7 separate regions of the Homo sapiens genome follow, and regions 1, 3, 4, 5, 6 and 7 are each linked to region 2. Evidence: promoter capture Hi-C in human tissues and cell types (Jung and others, 2019). All regions are on one chromosome and are shown on one strand. Each heading gives the region's core, a stretch centred on a gene start or on the middle of the fragment in contact. The rest is flanking DNA. Distances are from core to core; before and after follow the strand shown. Region 1 overlaps ADD1 (adducin 1). Region 2 holds the start of RNF4 (ring finger protein 4). Region 3 overlaps GRK4 (G protein-coupled receptor kinase 4). Region 4 overlaps NOP14 (NOP14 nucleolar protein). Region 5 overlaps NELFA (negative elongation factor complex member A). Region 6 overlaps LOC124900839. Region 7 holds the start of NOP14 (NOP14 nucleolar protein).

Region 1 (2,841 bases), core at 21-2,520, 450 kb before region 2:
CTTGTTTTTAAAAACAATCCAGGTTACTCAGATCCCAGGAGACTCCAAAGGGCAGACACATGTCTGTGTACATGTGCACAGAAACTAGGAGGAGGCCACATGACCCACAGCTCAAGCTGACTACCTCCAGTTCTCGCTCTAAGGCAGGTAATTACAGCAATGGCTCAGACAAAGCTTCACTGGAGGGAGACAACCAGCAGCAGGGCCTGGTGTGTGTGGCGGCCTGAATAGTAAATAGCGGTGTGACACTGAAAAACAATTCAGCAACTCAAATTTCAGTCACAACTACGTAATGCAGTGGCTGGTCTAGAACGAGACAAAAACCGGTGAAGAGGTCCTCTTAGGAGGAGTGCCTAGCTCCCAGGATGACGACGGCCCAGGAGAGCAACAGTCAGTCCCACACAACAAGGTGGCTCCAGCAAGGCTGACCCCGGAGGACTGAGAAGCACACTGAGGTTTCAGTAAAAACCTGAGTTGGAGCTTACGGCCCTGAGGATGCTGGCGGGAGCCTCCTGGCAGGGGTCCCTGTGCCCCTGGTTCTTCTTGGTGCCAGCACCAAGGCTGCTCAGAGCCTAGTGGACAAGAGAGCTGGCAGCAGGGAGCTTGGGGGAAAAGCAGCTGATGCCCAAAAGCCCTCAAGGAATAGGCTTTGGAGACCTGCTTCTCTCATTAGTTCTCAACATTTCCTTTTCAAAGCCTGACATTTGAAACCACCTGCTCCGTGAGGGTCTCAAACTTGAGCCGCTTATTTGTATTCATTTTAAGACTGCCCCATCTTTGACAAAAACAAGACCGCCTTTGTCAGCGGGCTACCAAGAGAAGTACAGGCTGCACCAGCCATTCCTGATGGGACCTGGGCACATGCCAGGGCAGTCAGCATTTTCACCCTCCGGCCTGTGACCACACCTGCACAGGAAACCCTCAAGGTTTATGGAGAAAGAGAATTTCTGTCAGAAACCCCAAGCCCTACACACAAGCACAGTAAGGACGTTCAGAGCGTCCCCCTGCACAGAGGCCGGGGCTGACTGCTGTGACCAAAGACTCAGTGAGGAAGGCAGTGCGCTTCTGTCCAAATCAGGGCTCGGCCACGCACAACCTCGTTCTCGCGAGCCGCCCTGTCTGAGCTCCCTATTCCTCTGCTCCAGCCGGGGGAAAATGACCTATCTCTCAGGGTTACTTTGAGAATGAGATGAGATGTACGCACAATAGCACTGGGCATGTGCCCGGCACAATGACTGCTCAGCAATGCTGAGTGTTAATGAATCAAACTGAGTAAAGGAGGTCTCTCCCCGGTGAAGCTTCAACAGACAGAAATACTGTGTTCGTAAAGAGACAAATGTCAGGGTGACAGGCAACATGGCCGAATAGGAACAGCTCCGATCTGCAGCTCCCAGTGAGATCAACGCAGAAGGTGGATGATTTCTGCATTTCCAACTGAGGTACCTGGCTCATCTCCCTGGGACTGGTTAGACAGTGGGTGCAGCCCACGGAGGGCGAGCCAAAGCAGGGTGGGGTGTTGCCTCACCCAGGAAGTGCAAGGAGTCGGGGAACTCCCTCATCTAGCCAAGGGAAGCCATGAGGGACTGTGGCTTGAGAAACAGTGCATTCCAGCTCAAATACTACGCTTTTCCCACGGTCTTCGCAATCCACAGACCAGGAAATTCCCTTGGCTGCCCATGACACCAGGACCCTGGGTTTCAAGCACAAAACTGGGCAGCCGTTTCGGCAGACACTGAGCTAGCTGCAGGAGTTTTTTCTGATACCCCAGTGGCGCCTGGAATGCCAGCAAGACAGAACCCTTCACACCCCTGGAAAGGGGGCTGAAGCCAGGGAGCCAAGTGGTCTTGCTCAGCAGATCCCACCCCCATGGAGCCCAGCAAGCTAAGATCCACTGGCTTGAAATTCTTGCTGCCAGCACAGCAGTCTGAAGTCGACCTGGGATGCTGGAGCTTGGTGGGGGGAGGGGCATCCACCATTACTGAGGCTTGAGTAGGCCATTTTCCCCTCACAGTGTAAACAAAGCTGCCAGGAAGTTCACACTGGGCAGAGCCCACCGCAGCTATGCAAAGCCACTGTAGCCAGACTGCCTCTCTAGATTCCTCCTCCCTGGGCGGGGCATCTCTGAAAGAAAGGCAGCAGCCCCAGTCAGGGGCTTATAGATAAAAGTCCCATCTCCCTGGGACAGAGCACCTGGGGGAAGGGTTGGCTGTGGGCACAACTTCAGCAGACTGAAGTTACTACCTGCTGGCTCTGAAGAGAGCGGTGGATCTCCCAGCACAGCACTCAAGCTCTGCTGAGGGACAGACAGCCAACTCAAGTGGGTCCCTGACCCCTGTGCCTCCTGACTGGGAGACACCTCCCGGCAGGGGTCAACAGACACCTCATATAGGAGAGCTCCAGCTGGCATCTGGCAGGTGCCCCTCTGGGACGAAACTTCCAGAGGAAGGAACAGGCAGCGATCTTTGCTGTTCTGCAGCCTCTGCTGGTGATACCCAGGCAAACAGGGCCTGGAGTCGACCTCCAGCAAACTCCAACAGACCTGCAGCAGAGGAGCCTGTCTGTTAGAAGGAAAACTAACAAACAGAAAGGGATAGCATCAACATCAACAAAAAGGACATCCACATGAAAACGCCATCTGAAGGTCACCAACATCAAGGACCAAACGTAGATAAATCCACAAAGACGAGGAAAAACCAGTGCAAAAAGGCTGAAATTTCCAAAAACCAGAATGCCTCTTCTCCTCCAAAGGATCACAACTCCTCACCAGCAAGGGAACAAAACTGGACAGAGAATGAGTTTGATGAACTGACAGAAGTAGACTTCAGAAGGTGGGTAATAACA
Region 2 (3,070 bases), core at 321-2,820:
AGAGTGAAAAATCTTACTCATTTTATGTACAAAGCACAGATGTGCATACATTATATAAAAAGAAATAGTTTACGTATGGCATTAAGATTTCATGAAGATTAGAAAAACAATGTTTACAAAAGGTCCTTACAAAGGTAGTAATTCAAGAAAAGATCAATAAACGATGTGTTAAAGTAAGATTTTTGGAAGCTCAAATTCAGGCAATACAAAAGCCAGCAATATATCTTGCTACTCGAATGCCTCTATTTCACCTCAAACTCACAGATAAAACTGAACCCAATATGTCCTTGTCCATTAAAAAGCAAATCACCAAGAAAGTAACAAAAGATTCCCTTCAATGTCTCTTTTATTGACAGTGGTCCCAAAACTCCTGGTCAATGAATTCAAAACCCAAATCTTGCAGGTAGGACTTAACCTCATCTGCTGCCAAATAGCTGGCTATGTGACCTTGGGCAGACCACTTCACTTTTCTGGACCTCAGTCTCCCCAGTCAGTTGGACAGTCTAAGCCAGGCTCCAGAGCTGAGACCCTACGTCTGGCTCAAGAACTTGGTGCAGAAACAGAACGAAGATTATTAAGTTTGTGAACGTCTATGGGAACTGACAAGTGAAAGACAAAAGCTGAAATCCCTACCAAAACGGCTTGCCCAAGCTCTATCCTTTTCCCTCTTCCCTCGATGGATCAAAGGCGGAAAAGCGGTGTTTACTAGCAACTCTGTTTCGGGTCGTGAGAATCTTCATACACCTGTCTATAGGCGCGCCAGAGCGGTGAAGGGCCCGAGCGGTGCAGGGCTGGGCCGCAAGCCTCACAGTCGCACGTTCCACCAACCACCAGCCGGGGCCCGGAAGCGCGCCCGGAAATCGAGGCCCTACTAAGTTTTAGACTGCGACCTCGGCGCCCCCACGGTCAGGCCCGCACCCGTACTCAGATCCTCCCGACCTACAAAAGGCCCCGCCACGCGGCCCACGCACCCCGGCAAACTCGCAGGCCCCACGATGGCGGGGCGGCGGCGCGAACACACAAAGGAGGCGTCGTCAGCGGGGAACAAAAACCCTGCCCGGGTCTTCCCCCTAACAGCACATCCTGCCCGACTTTCCAAGTGACCTTGGGGGCGTTCCTGCCCCTCCCAGAGTCTCAGTTTCCCTTCCTAGGCTAGGAACTAAGCCCCATGGCCGCGGCCCCCCAGGGTGAGCCGAGACCCAGACGCAGACCTCCTAACTTCTGTTGCCCGCGCCAAGCCGGGCTCGGTGCGCCCGCGCGGACGGCAGTGCGAGCGACCAGAGCTGGCTCGAGGTCCCGGGCTGCAAAGCCTCGGCTGGGTCAAGCCGCGCAGCGCGGCTCCCCCAAGAGGCGCGGGCCGAGGCCTCTGTAGGCCGCGAAGCTGCCTAAACCTCGCATCTGCAAGGCCCTGACTTACCGCTGCTTTCCCGCAAAGCTCGGCCTAACCTGGAGCTAGTTAGGTCCGCAGGCGCCACCGCCGGCGCACTCCGGAGAAGAAGCTCCTTCTTCAGCCGCCCAGGAGAGCTCCTCGAGAAAGATGCCGCCGCCTCAACAGCAACCCACTTCCGCTTCGGAGGCCTCGGCTCCGCCCCCCATCATGTCCCCATTGGCCGCCCGCCTACTCTACTTCCGCGGTCGGCCGGGTAAGGACAAATTTTTTAATCCTATTGGATAAGAAAACCATCTGTTACCACTTTAAAACGCGCCTCTTTCCGCCCCCGCCCACAATCGAGCGCACTAACTCGCACCTTCCGGCAAGAGACGGCGCGGGCGCGCCCCGCCCGCAAGGTTTTTCGGGAGTCACGGTCTGAGGGCGACCCGGGCGACCCGGTCGCCCGTGCCCGGCTGCCACTGACCGCTCCAACGCCGCCAGGGACGACCCGCCAGCTGCCTCCGGAGCCGAGCAGGCCCCGAACCTTCCCATTCCTAGATTTCCAGCCGCACAACAGCCGCGGTGCCCCTGGCTCGACGCAGCTGGCCGGAGGCGCGGAGCTGGTCGTTCGTCCCGCCCGCCGTTCCGCGCCCCTCTCCCGGCTCTTGTTTCCTCGCCTCTTAACGAGGCCTTTGTGAGGAAGGTTGCTGGGCCTTGGGACTCTGACGATCGGCTGGAAACCAGGCCTGGCCCTGTTTCAGCATCCCCGCGTGCCAAGCCCTGGGCCGGCGTGCGGGTCCCTGCCCCTGCGAGGAAGCTGGGACTTTTGCAGGCCTGGGTGGAGACGTGTACATAACAGAGGAAGAGTGTGGAGGATTGGAGGACTCAGGGCAGCACGGCAGAGGTGCATGCAGGTCCCCGGTCGGACTGGAGAATGGGCGGTGGGTTTCTTGAGCTCCAGTCCCTGAGCTCGACTTTGACGTGGGTTTAGCAACCAGGAAAAAAGCCCACCTTGTCCCTGCTGCCTGAGAATACCCAGACCTTAGTCCATGGCCAGCATCTCTGGTCCCTCGGCACCCTCAGGCAACGTGAAGGTCACCCCAAATGCCTTGGGTTACATTGTTTCCTTACAGTGAGTTTGTTTGTTTTAGTGGCGCGATCTCGGCTCACTGCAAGCTCTAACCTCCTGGGTTCACGTGATTCTCCTGCCTCAGCCTCCCGAATAGCTGGGATTACAGGCGCCTGCCACCACGCCCGGCTAATTTTCTTTGTATTTTTAGTAGAGATGGAGTTCCATCATGTTGGCCAGGCTGGTCTCGAGCTCCTGACCTCAGGTGATCCACCCTCCTTGGCCTCCAAAAGTGCTGGGATTACTGGTGTGAGCCACCTCGCCCGGCCACCTTACAGTGAGTTTCTAACCTCGAAAATGGAGTCAAATAACGGAATGACAAGGCAGATAGAAACCAGAGCATTAACGTTTTTGTGTTGCATTTACAAACAATATGTGTTTGCTATTTTTCGTAATTGTAAGGAAATCTGGCATGGTAGAGTATCTGATAGATAAATGTAATTCTCATGTAAAATATCTAAGTATTTGTGTTTTTTGTTTGTTTGTTTGTTTGTTTTGAGACGGAGTCTCGCTCTGTCGCCCAGGCTGGAGTGCAGTGGCGCGATCTCGGCTCACTGCAAGCTCCGCAT
Region 3 (2,895 bases), core at 126-2,625, 510 kb before region 2:
AGCCCAGTGGGCCCAAGCAAAACTCAGGTAAAGCCGCCACTGGCCACAGAAGTCTCCAGCTGGTGAAGTGACACCCTAAGGATCCTGTGACAGTGGCACAGCCGCTCAGCCCCAGTGGGTTTGTGTTCACGGGTATGTGGCACTGACGGTGGGGTAGGGTGGCAACAAGAGGTAGGCTGGATGCATTACCCAGGACTAGCCTGTCAGGCAAGAGGTGAGCTGTTCTGCTCCTCACAGATGGGCCCAAGGAAGACAAGGCTTCCAGTGAGTCCCTGTGCCTCATCTAGGTGCTGTTCTGGGGTATTTGCACATTGAGATCTCAGCATCTAGTAGGCTTGTTGTGGAGATTAAATAGGATAACTTGTATAGAAAGGTACCAGGCCCATGAGTGGGGTTCAGTGTTCCTTCCCTTCCCCTTTAGGGTATGTTTCCTACATCGACAGAAGATTCCCACTGAAGACTGGTTCCCGGGTTCCCATCTTGGATGATGAGGGAAACAAGTCAAGGTGCTAGGCTTTCCTCTTCATCCTGGCTGCTGCCACTCCCAGCCAGCTCCAGGCAGTGAAGGCTCCAGGGAGGCTGGGTGGCCATGGCAGCCCCAGTCATCCTTCCATACTGTGAATCCTGGCTAACAAATTATTTATTGAGAAGACATCTGCTGTCCATGTCCAGTGTGCCAGGCACTGTCCAGGCTCTGGGTACCCTGTGGAGGGTCAGGCAGCTGGTCCTAACAGGATGAAAGCACTCTTGTCAGACCCAAAGAAACTTGGAGCTGGGAAGGCACAAAGAAGGGTTCTTGCTTACATGTCTGAGATAAGAACCATTAGGAGGAGTGTCTAAAATAACCCCACAAGAAATTCTTTCACATCCTTCATGCATTTCATGCTTTTCACAACCTACATTTGGCACATATGCAGGTATTTCTGAGACCAGGTACACTGGACCATTTTTTTTCTTTTTTGAGATAGGGTCTTGCTCTGTCACCCAGGCTAGAATGCAGAATGCAAGTCTCACTGCAGCCTTGACTTCCTGGACTCAAGAGATCCAGCTACCTCAGCCTCCTCAGCAGCTGGGACCACAAGCATGCACCACCACACATGGATTTTTTTTGGGGGGGTAGGGGGACGGAGTTTCACTCTTGTTGCCCAGGCTGGAGTGCAATGGTGTGATCTTGGCTCACCACAACCTCCGCCTACTGGGTTCAAGCAATTCTCCTGGCTCAGCCTCCTGAGTAGCTGGGATTACAGGCATGTGCCACCACGCCCGGCTAATTTTGTATCTTTAGTAGAGACAGGGTTTCTCCATGTTGGTCAGGCTGGTCTCGAACTCCTGACCTCAGGTGATCCGCCCGCCTCGGCCTCCCCAAAGTGCTGGGATTACAGGCGTGAGCCACCGTGCCTGGCCACTCTTTTTTTTTTTTTTTTTTTTTTTGAGACAGAGTCTCCCTCTGTCACTCAGGTTGGAGTGCAGTGGCACCATCTCAGATGATTGCAACCTCCACCTCCTGGGTTCAGGTGATTCTCCCACTTTAGCCTCCAGAATAGCTGGGATTGCAGGCGCCTGCCACCACACCCAGGTAATTTGTGGGGTTTTTTTTTGTTTTTTTTTTTGAGACGGAGTCTCGTTCTGTTGCCCAGGCTGGAGTGCAATGGCGCGATCTCGGCTCACTGCAAGCTCCACCTCCTGGGTTCACACCATTCTCCTGCCTCAGCCTCCCAAGTAGGTGGGACTATAGGCGCCCATCACCATGCCTGGCTAATTTTTTTGTATTTACAGACGGTGTTTCACCACGTTAACCAGGATGGTCTCGATCTCCTGACCTCATGATCCGCCTGCCTTGGCCTCCCAAAGTGCTGGGATCACAGGCGTGAGTCACCGTGCCCAGCCTAATTTGTGTATTTTCAGTAAGAGACGGGGTTTCAGCATGTGGGCCAGGCTGGTCTCGAACTCCTGAACTCAGGAGATCCGCCCACCTCGGCCTCCCAAAGTGCTGGGATTACAGGCATGAGCCACTGTGCCTGGCCACACATGGCTATTTTTTTAAAAAGCTTTTGTAGAGAAGAGATCTTGCCATGTTGCCCAAGCTAGTCTCAGACCCCTGGGCCCAATCGACCCTCCTGCCTCAGCCTCTCAAACAACTGGGATTACAAGCATGAGCCACCTTGCCTGGCCTGGACTTTTTTTAGGACGGCAGCAATTGAGATAAGATGCTCTTGAAAGAACACCTGCCCCCTAGTGGCATCTCCACCACAGAACTGATGCCAACTACGATTTTGAGCCTCTGGAACCAGTGAACTCTGTTTCCAAGCAGCTTATGTGAACCTCTCCCTGTCTGCCAAATAAAAGCTTCCTCTTCCTTTCCCCTTTTCGGGTGCACCTGTGGCTCGCCATGGCTGTGCATCCCAAATTATAATCCTCTTTGCTTACTCCCTAATTCATTCATTAAATTCAGAGATATTTTTCTCTGATATCTTTTTTTAGATTGACAATAGAATCGATTAGCTCAATTACAGAATCCTATCAGACCAAGTTTTTAAAAGATTCTTAAAAACTTAGCATATTATCAATTAGCTTAATGTGTGAAGCCACAGTCTATGAGATAACCAAGAACCTTCTACATAAAGTAATTTTAAAGATGAAAGTTGTTTTCCCTTTTTCTTCCCACTCAATATGGATCTTTAGGATAGATTAATACAGCAACTGACTTTTAGGAATTTCTATAAAACCTAGTTTATTCTCAATTTTAGCTGTAAAAAAGAAGGAAAATATTTTATTGTCAAAAGAGATATAGTCAGGGCACCAAAGGCTCATGTTACAAAAGAAAAAATAGGCAAAATGAACTTCATAAGCCCATGGAATGGGGGAAAACATTTGCACATTATATACCTGATAAGG
Region 4 (3,014 bases), core at 293-2,792, 480 kb before region 2:
CTAAGGTAGGTGGAATGATGGTGTCAGCATGCCAAGTGGGCAGGTGGTCACCCAGGGCTTGTGAGCCTCACAGCGCAAGCCGGCTTCTCACACGTGCCGCTCCAGCCACTGTAGAGCTGGGACTGACTTTTAACCACAAACAAGTTGATTTTGAAACAAGTGAACCCCTTTAGATTTGTGGCTGGGATGGGGTGGCTCATTGTAAGTTTCAAGCTCTGGGTGACTGAGCGGTATTTGGAAAGCACGGTAGACACCCCGCCCCTCACCCTTCAGTGAAACCCAGTTGGGTGGCTTTGCATGCCAGGGAGTGTGTACCTCTTGTCTGCATGGGGACCGCCAGGGCGAGCTCCTGCCCTCGTTGCCCTCTAAGGCTGTGTGACCCACTCAGTGGCTCCTGGCCCCCAGGGCTGGTGGCTGGAAGAATGCCAGAGGGGCAGAGTCCTCAGTTGAGAGGCGTGTGTTGGCTTCGGATCCATGAGAGTGCACACCAGCTTCCTGCCCTGTGCCGCGCGGAGCTCTCCACGTCATCTTCTGCATGCATGGAGGCACTATCAAAGAAGTACCTGTCGTGAGGAATAAATGAGTTAATATGGAAAGTGCCTTGGAGCTGTCAGCTGCAGCTGCCACACAGAGTGGTGCCCCCAACAACGTCTGTACCACAAATCGAGCTGTTTCTCCCACCACCTCCAGTCCATAATGTTATGGCCGAGTTTTTAGGAAATGGCAGAAGTGAGTGTAGACTCTTAAGAATGCTGTTAGAAAAAGCGGATTCATCCAGTTCTTACTTGCTCAGTCAACAGGTGACTGCATAGGAAAGTGGCTTGCAGGGCTTTTCTGTGTTTCTTATCTAAAGTCATTCTCTCCTGACTTTACATTTCTGCTTAACAGGCACTTATATCATCTTTGCCAGATGTTTCCTGAATCTGCAAGTGACGCTATCAAATTTGTTCTCCGAGATGCGATGCATGAGATGGAAGAAATGATTGAGACCAAAGGCCGGGCGGCATTGCCAGGGTTGGATGTGGTAAGCAGAGTTCAGTCTAGGCACTGCCCCTGCCACAGAAGTTCTGTTTGGCATCACAGAAGGTGGACGACGGGTACGATGCTCTTGGCTGTACCCTGTGCTTCCAGGGTGATGTGGAGTGAGCTGCACGGCAGCGAGGGTGATCTGGAGTGAGAGTGCACGGCAGTGAGGGTGATCTGGAGTGAGAGTGCACGGCAGTGAGGGTGATCTGGAGAGTGCACGGCAGTGAGGGTGATCTGGAGAGTGCACGGCAGTGAGGGTGATCTGGAGTGAGTGCACGGCAGCGAGGGTGATCTGGAGTGAGAGTGCACGGCAGTGAGGGTGATCTGGAGTGAGAGTGCACGGCAGTGAGGGTGATCTGGAGTGAGAGTGCACGGCAGTGAGGGTGATCTGGAGTGAGAGTGCACGGCAGTGAGGGTGATCTGGAGTGAGAGTGCACGGCAGTGAGGGTGATCTGGAGTGAGAGTGCACGGCAGTGAGGGTGATCTGGAGTGAGAGTGCACGGCAGCGAGCCTGGGAGGGGAGGGCACTCCTCCACTAGCCATGGACTAACGTGTGGGTCGTGCAGGGAGATTCTGGTTTGATTCCACGTGAATGGTGCTGTATTTGGTCCAGTGACAAAAACATTGGAAGGCAAATAGAACCACGGTATTGTCCTTAAGGGCCCAAGCCTGTGGGCTGGTTTAAATTGGTCTCGGTTTCTATGTTATTCAAAGGTTGGGAGACATTTGTACGCTGAGATTTTTAACAATTTTATAACAGCCTCATGCTGTATTTTCAGCTTTAGTAACTTTAAGGAAATACTTGCTGAGATACGCTCTTTATTCTGTTGCCTGGTGTTTGTGTTGAAATGGATTCACAATAGTTAGCAGAAGCTTAAAAATGTAGGACTTAGGTTAGTGATTTTTAATCAACTCCCCAAAACATGATCTGAGCCCGTGTCTATAACCATTGTTGACTGCTTTGAAGTCTTCATGGGCCTCAGTGTCCTCACTGCACGTTTAGCTGGTTGACCCACGGTGGTTGGACGCCTGTTCTGTGACACTGAGGCCAGAGCTCTGGGCCAAGGAGATGCACCCTCTCCTCGCCAGATCCTGTTCTTGGCTCCGGAGTGTTTGCGGGGAGGGCATATGGATGGACTTCATTTACCTTCTTTAACCTGTGGTAACACTTTCTTTCCAGCTCATTTATTTGAAAATCACTGGGCTGCTATTTCCAACTTCCGACTTCTGGCACCCAGTGGTGACCCCTGCCCTCGTGTGCCTCAGTCAGCTGCTCACCAAGGTGCGTTCTCTCCACATGCGGCAGGGGTCGGCCTGCTGCACCACGGGTGGCCGGAGCCACAGCCCCTCGGGGCCTTGTGGAACATGAGTGTGGCTGTTTAAGGGCTGCAGAGACCGAGCACTGCGGTTAGGCCAAAGAGGGCCCATCTAAAAGAGCCCCGGCTCGAGCAGCCCCAGATGTGGGTGGGAGTGGGAGGGCCTGGTTTGGCACCTCAAGGTTACAGATGGTGCTACCCCAGAAAACAACCTTTCAAGTTAGTGGTGAAGTTATCCAGTGTGATGATAAGGGCTTTTGTTCCCTTTTTGGCTTAAAAAGTTCAAGCTGTTCCTTTTTCTTTATTAGGCATGTGATTGGTACATGCTTAGTGCAGTAATCGTACGCTCTGTATGGGTGGAAGGAACTTTATAATCAGTATAGCTCTGGCCAGGCGCGGTGGCTCACGCCTGTAATCCCAGCACTTTCGGAGGCTGAGGCGGGCGGATCACCTGAGGTCGGGAGTTCAAGACCAGTGTGGCCAACATGGCGAAACCCCGTCTCTACTAAAAATACAAAAATTAGCTGGGTGTGGTGCCACATGCCTGTAATCCCAGCTACTCGGGAGACTGAGGCAGGAAAATCACTTGAACCCGGGAGGTGGAGGTTGCAGTGAGCCGAGATTGTGCCATTGCACTCCAGCCTGGGTGGTAAGAGTGAAACTCCGTCTCGG
Region 5 (2,817 bases), core at 229-2,728, 470 kb after region 2:
GGGTTGAAAATTCTTTTCTTTAAGAATGTTGAATATTGGCCCCCAAACTCTTCTGGCTTGTAGAGTTTCTGCAGAGGTCTGCCATTAGTTAGTCTGATGGGCTTCCCTTTGTAGGTGACCTGGCCTTTCTCTCTGGCTGCTCTGAACAGTTTTTCCTTCATTTCGACCTTGGAGAATTTGATGATTATGTGTCTTGGGGTTGATCTTCTCATGGAGTGTCTTAGTGGGGTTCTCTGTATTTCCCAAATTTGCATGTTGGCCTGTCTCTAGGTTGAGGAAGTTCTGGATAATATCCTTAAGTGTGTTTTCCAGCTTGTTTCCATTCTCCCCGTCTCCTTCTGGTACTCCAGTCAGTAGTAGGTTTGGTCTTTTTATGAAATCCCGTGTTTTTTGGAGGCTTTGTTCGTTCCTTTTCATTCTTTTCTCTCTATTGTTGTCTGCATGTCTTATTTCAGTAAGGTGGTGTTCAAACTCTGATATCCTTTGTTCCGCTTTGTGGATTCGGCTGTTAATACTTGCGGATGACTCATGAGGTTCTGGTGCTGTGTTTTTCAGCTTCATCAGGTCATTTATGTTCCTCTCTAAACCGGTTATTCTAGTTAGCAATTCCTCTGACCTTTTATCAAGGTTCTTAGCTTCTTTGCATTGGGATAGAACATGCTCCTTTAGTTCATCATTGTTTTTTTTTTTATTACCCATCTTCTGAAGCCTACTTCTGTCAGCTCGTCCATCCAATCCTCCGTCTAGTTCTGCGCCCTTTTTGGAGAGACATTGTGATCATTTGGAGGAGAAGAGGCACTCTGGCCTTTGGGGTTTTCAGCATTTTTTCGTTGATTCTTTCTCATCTTCGTGAGTTTGTCTAGTTTCAGTCTTTGAGGCTGCTGACCCTTGGATGGGGGCTTTTGTTGTGGTTGTTGTTGTTGTTGTTGATGCTGTTGTCGTTTTCTGCTCGTTTGTTTTCCTTGCCGTAGTCATGTCCCTCTTCTGTAGGGCTGCTGCAGTTTGCTGGGGGTTCACTTCAGGCCATATTCATCTGATTCACTCCCATGCCTGGAGGTGTCACTAAAGGAGGCTGCAGAACAGCAAAGATGGGTGCCTGCTCCTTCTTCTGGGACCTCTGATCTCGAGGGGCACCAACCTGATGCCAGTAGGGTCACTGCTGTATAGGGTGTCTGACAACCCCTGTTGGAGGGTCTCACCTAGTTGGGTGACATAGGGAGCAGGACCCATTTAATGAAGCACTTTGTCCCATGATGGAGGGAGTGTGCTTCAGTGGGGGGAAACCACTTGTCTGGGCTGCCCAGGTTATTCTATATTTAACATTTTGAGAAATTGCCAAACTATTTTCCATAGTGGCTACACCATCTTACTTTCTCCATAGTGATTTTCGAGTGTTCAGTCTCTCACATCCTTGCCAACATTTGTTATCTTTTTGATATAGCGATCCTAGTGGGTGTGAGCACAAAGGAACTTTAAATTTTATCAAATGCTTAAATATCTATTGACATGTAATTCACCACATTAACAAAATAGCTTTAATTATAAACCAACCTTGCATTCCTGCGGTAAACCTAAATTGGTCATTTTATGTTGTTAGATTATATCATCCTGATGTTTTGTATAGGAATTTTGTACTATATCTTTGTTCTTGGGTGAGATTGACCTGTAGTTTTACTTACCCAGACTGTCTTTGTTGGATTTTGGTATTGGGGTTATGCTACCCTTAAAAAAGGATTTGTAATGTATCTGGTCTTTTCTTTTTCTTTGGAAAGTTTGTTTACTAATGGAGTGATTTCTTCCTAAATATTTGGTAGAACTTGGTAATGAAGCCTTCTGGACCTGAAATTTACTTTGTGGGAGGATTTTTCAGTATTGATTTTTGTTTTTATGGGTTTTGTTTTTTTTGTTTGTTTTAATGCATAGTGTCACTGTCACTCAGGCTGGAGTGGCAGTGATGTGATCATAACTCACTGTAACCTTAAACTCCTAAGCTCAAGTGATCTCCTGCCTCACCTTCCTGAGCAGCTAAGACTGCAGGCATGCACCACCATACCTGCCTACTTTTCTTTTTTTTTAAATTTTTTGTAGAGAGAGTGTCTCAAATACCCTTCTGTCATCGAGGCTGGAGTGCAATGGTGCAATCTTGGCTCACTGCAACCTCCACCTTCCAGACTCAAGTGATTATCGTGCCTCAGCCTTCTGAGTAGCTGGGATCACAGGCGTGTGCCACCATTCCCGGCTAATTTTTGTATTTTTAGTAGAGACAGGTTTTTGCCACGTTGGCCAGTCTGGTCTCAAGCTCCTGACCTCAAGTGATCCACATGCCTTGGTTGACCAAATTGCTGGGATTACAGGCATGAGCCAATATGACCAGCTCAAACATCTTCTTTTTAAATGTCAGAAGCATGTATAGTGATTATTTCTTATTTTTTCCCCCTTGATCCATCTCACCAGATGTTTGTTGATTTTATAAGAATTTTCAAACTACCAGCTTCTGGCTTTGTTGAACTTGGATTTCTGTTTCACTAATTTTCTTTCTCCTGTCTTTGTACTTACTTTGTTGCTCTTTTTCTAAGTTTTAAAGATGGATGCCAATCTCAGGCTTCTTTTCGTGTGTGTATGTGCGTATGTCCATAAATTCTCTTCTAATTACAGTGTAAGCCGCATCCCACAAGTTTTGATAGTCACAGAACTGTATCGTCACACTATTTTTTAATTTCAGTAAGTTCTTCACTGATCCCTGTGTAATTTAGAAATGTTTCATAATTTCCCTACATTGGAGGGGAAGATAGTTTTGTTTTTATTATTAATTTCTAG
Region 6 (3,104 bases), core at 406-2,905, 450 kb after region 2:
GGGAAGGGCACCATTCGGGAAGGGGAGCACTGAGGTCACAGCGGGAGCACGCCCACCCGGGAGCAGAAACCCCTCCTGAGGGCAGGACCCCAGCCACCACACACCCTGGCAAGAGCTCGCAACCTGGGGTTGCAAACCCTCCACTGAAGGCAGTGCTGACCTGAGGGTCTCCCTAGGAGGACAGGCGTGAGCAGAGAATCTGTCTGAAGACAAGGCAAAACTGAAGGTGCAGATGAGGACTTAGTTTGTTAGATAAGAACAGTGGATTCACGAGATCTGAACTCACTGGCCCTTGGTGCCCTTGAGACAGGGACATTCAGACCTGTGTTAGTTCATCCTCTTCCCAAGGAGCTCTTCACAACAGAAGGTGACAAGGACAGACGGACACACAGAATTGTTGTTAGGAGCAAAGTAGTTTCCACAAGGATCAAAATCTTCATCTCATCAGATAATCAAAGCACACGTAAGAAGGCTTTCTCAATCCTGGAACACAAGGAGCTTTCACAAAAGAAAACCAGAGGGTCACGGGGAGAGTGCTGGTTCCAGTCGCAGGTCTCAGGCCATCCTGGGGAGGCCGTCTCAGCCGAATCCCATGGGAACATTTAGGACCATTCACTGCCAACAACTCAACAGTGACTCCCAGAAAACTTGTTTATTTTTAGAGACAGGGTCTTGCTCTGTTGCCCGGGCTAGATTGCAGTGGTGCAACCACAGCTCACTGCAGCCTCAACCTCCTGGGCTCAAGCAATCCTCCCCCATCAACCTCCCAAGTAGCTGGGACTACAGGTGTGCTCCACCACACCCGGCTAATTTTTTAGTGTTTTGTAGAGACAGAGTCTTGCTGTGTTGCCAAGGCTGGTCTCTAACTCCTGGGCTCACGCAATCCTCCCACCTCAGCCTCCCAAAGTGCGCCTGGCCTCATAGGATTTTAGAATCTGGGCTCAGATGGTTGATGGTCTGTCTTTCAGTGCAAGGACTCATTGGGATAGGACAGAGCTTATGGCCCAACAGTGCAGGACAGAGAAACACAGCCAGATGAAGGTTCTGATGAGTGAGCTGGTTCCCAGATTGGTAAACTATGTGCCAGGATACATTGTTCTGCAAGATTTTCCTGAAGCAAACAGTGATTGACTGATTTAGTTTTATCTTCCTGGAAAGAATTTTCTGGAAATAATCATTAAATCAGGTTGACACAGGTGATCTCAGCTCTTGATCCCAAGAGTTAAGTGGACACAGGTGGTCTCAATTCTCATCCCGTCCTCAATATTCTGCCAAGGCCCCTCTGTCTTTTCCATCTCTTTTTTTTTTTCATTTTCTTTCTTTCTTTTTTTTTTTTTTTTTTTGAGACGGAGTCTCACGCTTGGTGCCCAGGCTGGAGTGCAATGGCACGATCTCAGCTCACGGCAACCTCCACCTCCCAGGTTCAAGCGATTCTCCTGCCTCAGCCTCCTGTGTAGCTGGGATTACAGGCATGAGCCACCACGCCCAGTTAATTTTTGTATTTTTAGTAGAGACAGGGTTTCACCATGTTGGCCAGGATGGTCTTGATCTCTTGACCTCATGATCCACCTGCCTCGGCCTCCCAAAGTGCTGGGATTACAGGCATGAGCCACTGTGCCCAGCCTTCCACCTCATTTTCTCTGTCATCATTTTTTTCTCCAGCTTCCAGGAGCCGTCGTAGCAGCCGATTAGGACTGGCTGCTGGTGTGGTGATGACCTAGAGGGCTTCTCCCAGGTAAGGTGAGAAGAGGGATCCACTCACTGCAAGAGGCTGCATAAACTTAACCCAACACTGTAAAGGCTCTCCTCATGAACAAAGCATTAGTAGTCTAGATAAAATACTAACAAGCGAAATCTAGCAACGTGTAAAAAAGAATAACATAGTCCAAGTTGGGCTTATTCTAGGAAAGTAAGGTTTATGTAATTTGAAAGGCAATCAATGTAATTCATCACATTTACAAAATAAAGGTGAAAAAATCATACAATCATCTCAGTATGCACAACAAAACATTTTATAAGAACATTTGATAAAATTAAATGTTGGTCATGATTTTTAAAAACCTGTAGCAAATTAGGAATAGAAGGGAACTTCTTTAATTTGATCTAGGGCACCTTAAAAAATAAGCAAACATGGCCGGGCATGGTGGCTCACACCTGTAATCCCAGCACTTTGGGAGGCTGAGGCGGGCGGATCACGAGGTGAGGAGATCGAGACCATGCTGGCTAACACGGTGAAACCCCATCTCTAATAAAAATACAAAAAATTAGCCGGGCGTGGTGGCGGGCGACTTGTAGTCCCAGATACTCAGGAGGCTGAGGCAGGAGAACGGCCAGAACCCGGGAGGCGGAGCTTGCAGTGAGCCAAGATCACACTACTGCACTCCAGCCTGGGCGACAGAGTGAGAATCCGTCTCAAAAAAATAAGAATAAAAATAAGCAAACATATCACTTAATGGACTCATGTAACAGTGAAAAGTATGGCGGGATAGCTAACAGGCCAACCCTCCCACTGATTAAAGGCTTTGGAGCATAAACCAAAGCAAGCGGATTTTGGAGGGAAGTAAAAACTTGGAGGAAAGGACCAGCCTGGTGAATTTGTTTGTTTGTTTGAGACAAAGTCTTGCTCTGTTGCCCAGGCTGGAGTGCAATGGTGTGATCTCAGCTCACTGCGACCTCTGCCTCCCGGATTCAAGCAATGCTCCTGCCTCAGCCTCCTGAGTAGCTGGGATTACAGGTGCCCACCACTGTGCCCGGCTAATTTTTGTATTTTTAGTAGAGATGGGGTTTTGCCATGTTGGCCAGGCTGGTTTTGAACTCCTGACCTCAGGTGATCCACCTGCCTCGGCCTTCCAAAGTGTTGGGATCACAGGCATGAGCCACCACAGCTGACTGATCCTGGTGAGTTTTAAGGCCATTTTCAAAGCTTAAGCCTGAGGACAGCTAGGGAGCCCCGGCATGGTGCAAGCAGATAACCCTAACAGAAAACTGACTGTCTTTCTGGATTTACAAACCAGAAAACAGAGCCTGGACCCACACAATTTCCAGGAAGTCAGGAGGGAGTCCTAAAACGGAAAGAGCCAGAGAAGTCTCTGATAGATCATGCA
Region 7 (3,028 bases), core at 377-2,876, 490 kb before region 2:
CTTGCATAGCTGGTGGCCTTGTAGCTGCGTTGAAAGAAAAAACCAAGAACTGGCTAAACACAGATATTTGTCCTCTTTTTTTTTTTTCTTCACCCCTGCTCTGGAAGGGGGGTGTCTGGAGCCTATTCCTTTGGATTCGACTTCTCAAACAGAACAGCGTTATCTTATAACTGTCCTTAAAGTGAGCTTGCTAAGCAAAAGAAAACTTGTTCTTCTTTTCTTTTTAACCCTTGCCTTGCCACATTCTGGGCCTTGGCTTTTTCTTTTCTTGGAGTGAATGAATGCAGTACTTATTACTATTTTTAAATTTCTGCCTCACTTTAATAATGATAAAAGGCTGAATTTTTGCCAACTTGTCCATCTGTGACCACGTCGTGCTAAAGCACACTTGACACACCATAGAGCCTCAGATCAAACCTCAAAACCAAGCAGCTATGTTAAAAATAACATTGCCCTACAATCATTATCGGAAGGTTCTCGCCCAGAGTAGTTCCCAGGCTGCTATTCTTTGTCCCCCTTAAGACCATAAAGACGCCGTTCTTTTTTGGTGGGACAGGTTGTCCAACACAAGCAGGACACTGCCTGCCGCATCCTGAAGCAACACTGTCACCGAGGTCACACCGAGAGGACAGGACAAGGACACAGGGCAAGACTAAGAAGAGCAAAGCGCAGACTTCTCTCATCTGGGCCAGGAGATGGGGACTGGGACCTGGCCCGGGCAGCCTGACCACACTGCACAGACCCCGGCTCCGGCTCCGTGCAGATCTGGGTTCCCCCAGTGGGAGGTGTCGGGGCTCTCCAGGGAAATCGGGGTTCTCCGGGGATGTCGGGTTCCTTCAGGGGGGCCAGGGTTCCCCGGGATTCGGGGTTCTCTGGGGGGGGGGTCGGGGGCGCCTGCCGCGCACCCACCTTGACGCGCTTTCAGCAGCAGCGAGTTGGCCACGATGTTCTCGAGCTCCATGTCCTGGCGCCGCCGCCGCCGGCGGATTCTGCGAGACCGAGGAGACTGAGGAGGCGGAACAGGAGGAGACGCCGCCGCCCCCGTGCATAGCTCGCCGGGCACCACCCTCTCCTCGAGCTCCGGACACGATCCCGGGAGGCTGCTCCGCCGCCACCACTGCCACCAAGGGCGCCGCCGCCGCCGCCTCCGCAGGCCCTCACCAGCAGGGGAGCGGTCGGGGCGAGGGGAGGGGGCAGCCCGACCGCGGCGGGTCCCAGCTGTCACCGCTGCCGCGCTATCGCCCCGGTTCTTCTTGGCCCCATCGCCCTCGCCTCGCGCGCGCAACTCCCTCCTCAGTGCCCTGCCCCCGGGCAGCCCCGAGTCAATGCCGTGGCTCACTTCGGACAGGGGCTCACTGGCAGGGGCGCCCGCCGCGGCCGGCGACCCGCTCCCGGGCGGGCTCGGCGCTAACGGCTTAGCTGAAGAGGGAGCGCCCCTCGCCGCCGCGGCCGGGGCACTACAGCTCCCAGAAGGCCCTGCGCCAAGAGTACACGGCGGGCCGCGGCGCGTGGCCTGCTGGGAGTTGTAGTCGCTGAGCCTATCGGCGAGTAAGCCGAGCCTGCGGGCGCGGTGTTTACTTCTCGCGAGTCGGAGGTGCTGCGCTGTTCTCGCGAGACGAGGAAGCGGTTCCGCGGCCCGGCACGTGTCTTAGGGTAGCGCGCGCCTGTCTCTCTTCGGGTCTCGGGCCCTTGGGCGCAGCGGGGCGCGCGCCATGGCGAAGGCGAAGAAGGTCGGGGCGCGAAGGAAGGCCTCCGGGGCGCCGGCGGGAGCGCGAGGGGGCCCGGCGAAGGCCAACTCCAATCCGTTCGAGGTGAAAGTTAACAGGCAGAAGTTCCAGATCCTGGGCCGGAAGACGCGCCACGACGTGGGACTGCCCGGGGTGTCTCGCGCACGGGCCCTCAGGAAGGTAAGCGGGGGGCGCACGGGGAGCCGGAAGGCAGGATCTGGACCCCACGCTGCTCTCGGCCGGCTGCGTCCTTCTCGGTGCGTCGGTTTCCTCGTTGAGCGGCACAGGCCGTGACAGGCACACGGCACTGACTTGATAGTCCGAAAGCCTCTGCTGTTCTCTGAGCTGGAGTGACCTGGAAACTCTCGCCGTCTTGGAGACCCTGCACTCGTGTTATTTCGGCGACTCCTCCAACCGGGTCAGGCCGAGTCAGTCACTTCGGGCGGCGCCCTGGACCAAGCTGCTTGTTAACCCTTCCGCGTTTACTTTGAGCTCTGCAGGTTTGGGGACGGTGGATAGGGGCTGTGTAGGATGCTGCGTTTGATGTTTCATCGGCTCTCTCCCGAAGCGCGTAACCTTGTTCCTTGGGAAGTAACTCTATGGAAACTCATTGCTTCCTAGTTTTTTTAACTTTTTTTTTTTTAAATTTTCACTGAGGAACATACATTAGCAGGTTGGTGAAAAAATTAAGGCACAGAAAGGACAAGTGCATTTCCTAAGGTCACGCACCTGGTAAGGGCTGGGCATGCATTCACATTTCAATATCTACAAAGCCTTCTTGCTACCCCGAGCGCTTCTGTTTGACCTCGCTTCTAGGTTCGGGGAGATAAAGGTAAATAAGACTTGCCCTTGCCTTCATGAGCTCCTGATCTCTGTTCATCACAGTGTGCAAGCTGGATGGTCTTTGAATCAAAACACATATTATCCTTACTGCGCGAAGACGACAGCCTGTATAATGAATAGGCAAGATAGACTTACAGCTGACTTCGATAGGAGTCCCTCATTACACACCCCCGGGCCGGGGTGGGAGAATAAGGTAGTGTGGTTCCCTAGAAGAGACACATTTGTCTTCACCACTGAAGCCTCAGTTTTCTCATTTCAAAAGTAGAGATGATAGTATACATCCTACCCCTCGTGGTGGTTTGTGAGAATTAAGTAAGATAGCACATAGAGCACACAGCAAGTGTTCTCTAAATACTGTTATTCTTAACCTTCTTGGCTTGTCGTTCGAGTCCCGCACAGTCTGGCTGTTGTCCTTGCTTCGCCTCTTGCAACTCAGTTTGTCCAAAAGGTCTGCCTTA

Evidence for each region. Contacts are between HindIII fragments. The study calls those that stand out against the background at their distance.
Region 1: a contact is called between a fragment that was not itself captured here and the fragment with the promoter of RNF4 in region 2, in 1 of the 25 tissues and cell types used here (dorsolateral prefrontal cortex).
Region 3: a contact is called between a fragment that was not itself captured here and the fragment with the promoter of RNF4 in region 2, in 2 of the 25 tissues and cell types used here (dorsolateral prefrontal cortex and spleen).
Region 4: a contact is called between a fragment that was not itself captured here and the fragment with the promoter of RNF4 in region 2, in 1 of the 25 tissues and cell types used here (dorsolateral prefrontal cortex).
Region 5: a fragment that was not itself captured here is called in contact with the fragment with the promoter of RNF4 in region 2 in 2 of the 25 tissues and cell types used here (IMR-90 fibroblasts and dorsolateral prefrontal cortex).
Region 6: a contact is called between a fragment that was not itself captured here and the fragment with the promoter of RNF4 in region 2, in 1 of the 25 tissues and cell types used here (dorsolateral prefrontal cortex).
Region 7: a contact is called between the fragment with the promoter of NOP14 here and the fragment with the promoter of RNF4 in region 2, in 2 of the 25 tissues and cell types used here (H1 embryonic stem cells and lymphoblastoid cells).

Annotation. Positions count from the first base shown.
Region 1 is chr4:2,922,104-2,924,944 of GRCh38, reverse strand. All of the region lies in intron 14 of ADD1 (adducin 1), which reads right to left. Among named protein-coding and RNA genes, the nearest start is that of SLC75A1, 11 kb to the left of the region's middle. RefSeq lists enhancers at 212-1,107, 1,108-2,003, 2,004-2,841. The HindIII fragment of the contact is 7,050 bases long and covers 1-2,841 here.
Region 2 is chr4:2,467,606-2,470,675 of GRCh38, reverse strand. It overlaps RNF4 (ring finger protein 4), which reads right to left and starts at 1,570. Exons shown (of 8, transcript NM_002938.5): 1 at 1,418-1,570. It overlaps LOC107986250 (a long non-coding RNA gene), which reads left to right and starts at 1,725. Exons shown (of 2, transcript XR_001741551.3): 1 at 1,725-2,276. RefSeq lists enhancers at 928-1,047, 1,092-1,664, 1,348-1,707 and a silencer at 1,858-2,027. The HindIII fragment of the contact is 20,287 bases long and covers 1-3,070 here.
Region 3 is chr4:2,977,940-2,980,834 of GRCh38, reverse strand. The region is part of intron 1 of GRK4 (G protein-coupled receptor kinase 4); the gene reads right to left. Among named protein-coding and RNA genes, the nearest start is that of GRK4, 16 kb to the right of the region's middle. The HindIII fragment of the contact is 3,818 bases long and covers 1-2,895 here.
Region 4 is chr4:2,944,422-2,947,435 of GRCh38, reverse strand. NOP14 (NOP14 nucleolar protein) reads left to right here. Exons shown (of 18, transcript NM_001291978.2): 11 at 889-1,024; 12 at 2,207-2,308. NOP14-AS1 (NOP14 antisense RNA 1) reads right to left here. Exons shown (of 4, transcript NR_015453.2): 3 at 316-563. Among named protein-coding and RNA genes, the nearest start is that of NOP14-AS1, 10 kb to the right of the region's middle. RefSeq lists an enhancer at 1-801. The HindIII fragment of the contact is 9,701 bases long and covers 1-3,014 here.
Region 5 is chr4:1,996,209-1,999,025 of GRCh38, reverse strand. The region is part of intron 1 of NELFA (negative elongation factor complex member A); the gene reads left to right. Among named protein-coding and RNA genes, the nearest start is that of MIR943, 11 kb to the right of the region's middle. RefSeq lists an enhancer at 507-1,006. The HindIII fragment of the contact is 4,892 bases long and covers 1-2,817 here.
Region 6 is chr4:2,016,301-2,019,404 of GRCh38, reverse strand. LOC124900839 reads left to right here. Exons shown (of 4, transcript XM_047416543.1): 3 at 1,663-1,735. Among named protein-coding and RNA genes, the nearest start is that of NELFA, 8.9 kb to the right of the region's middle. The HindIII fragment of the contact is 5,535 bases long and covers 1-3,104 here.
Region 7 is chr4:2,962,004-2,965,031 of GRCh38, reverse strand. It overlaps NOP14 (NOP14 nucleolar protein), which reads left to right and starts at 1,626. Exons shown (of 18, transcript NM_001291978.2): 1 at 1,626-1,907. The coding sequence starts at 1,713. It overlaps GRK4 (G protein-coupled receptor kinase 4), which reads right to left and starts at 1,461. Exons shown (of 16, transcript NM_182982.3): 1 at 910-1,461. The coding sequence starts at 961. RefSeq lists silencers at 789-838, 1,009-1,438 and enhancers at 901-1,434, 1,435-1,968, 2,999-3,028. The HindIII fragment of the contact is 12,457 bases long and covers 1-3,028 here.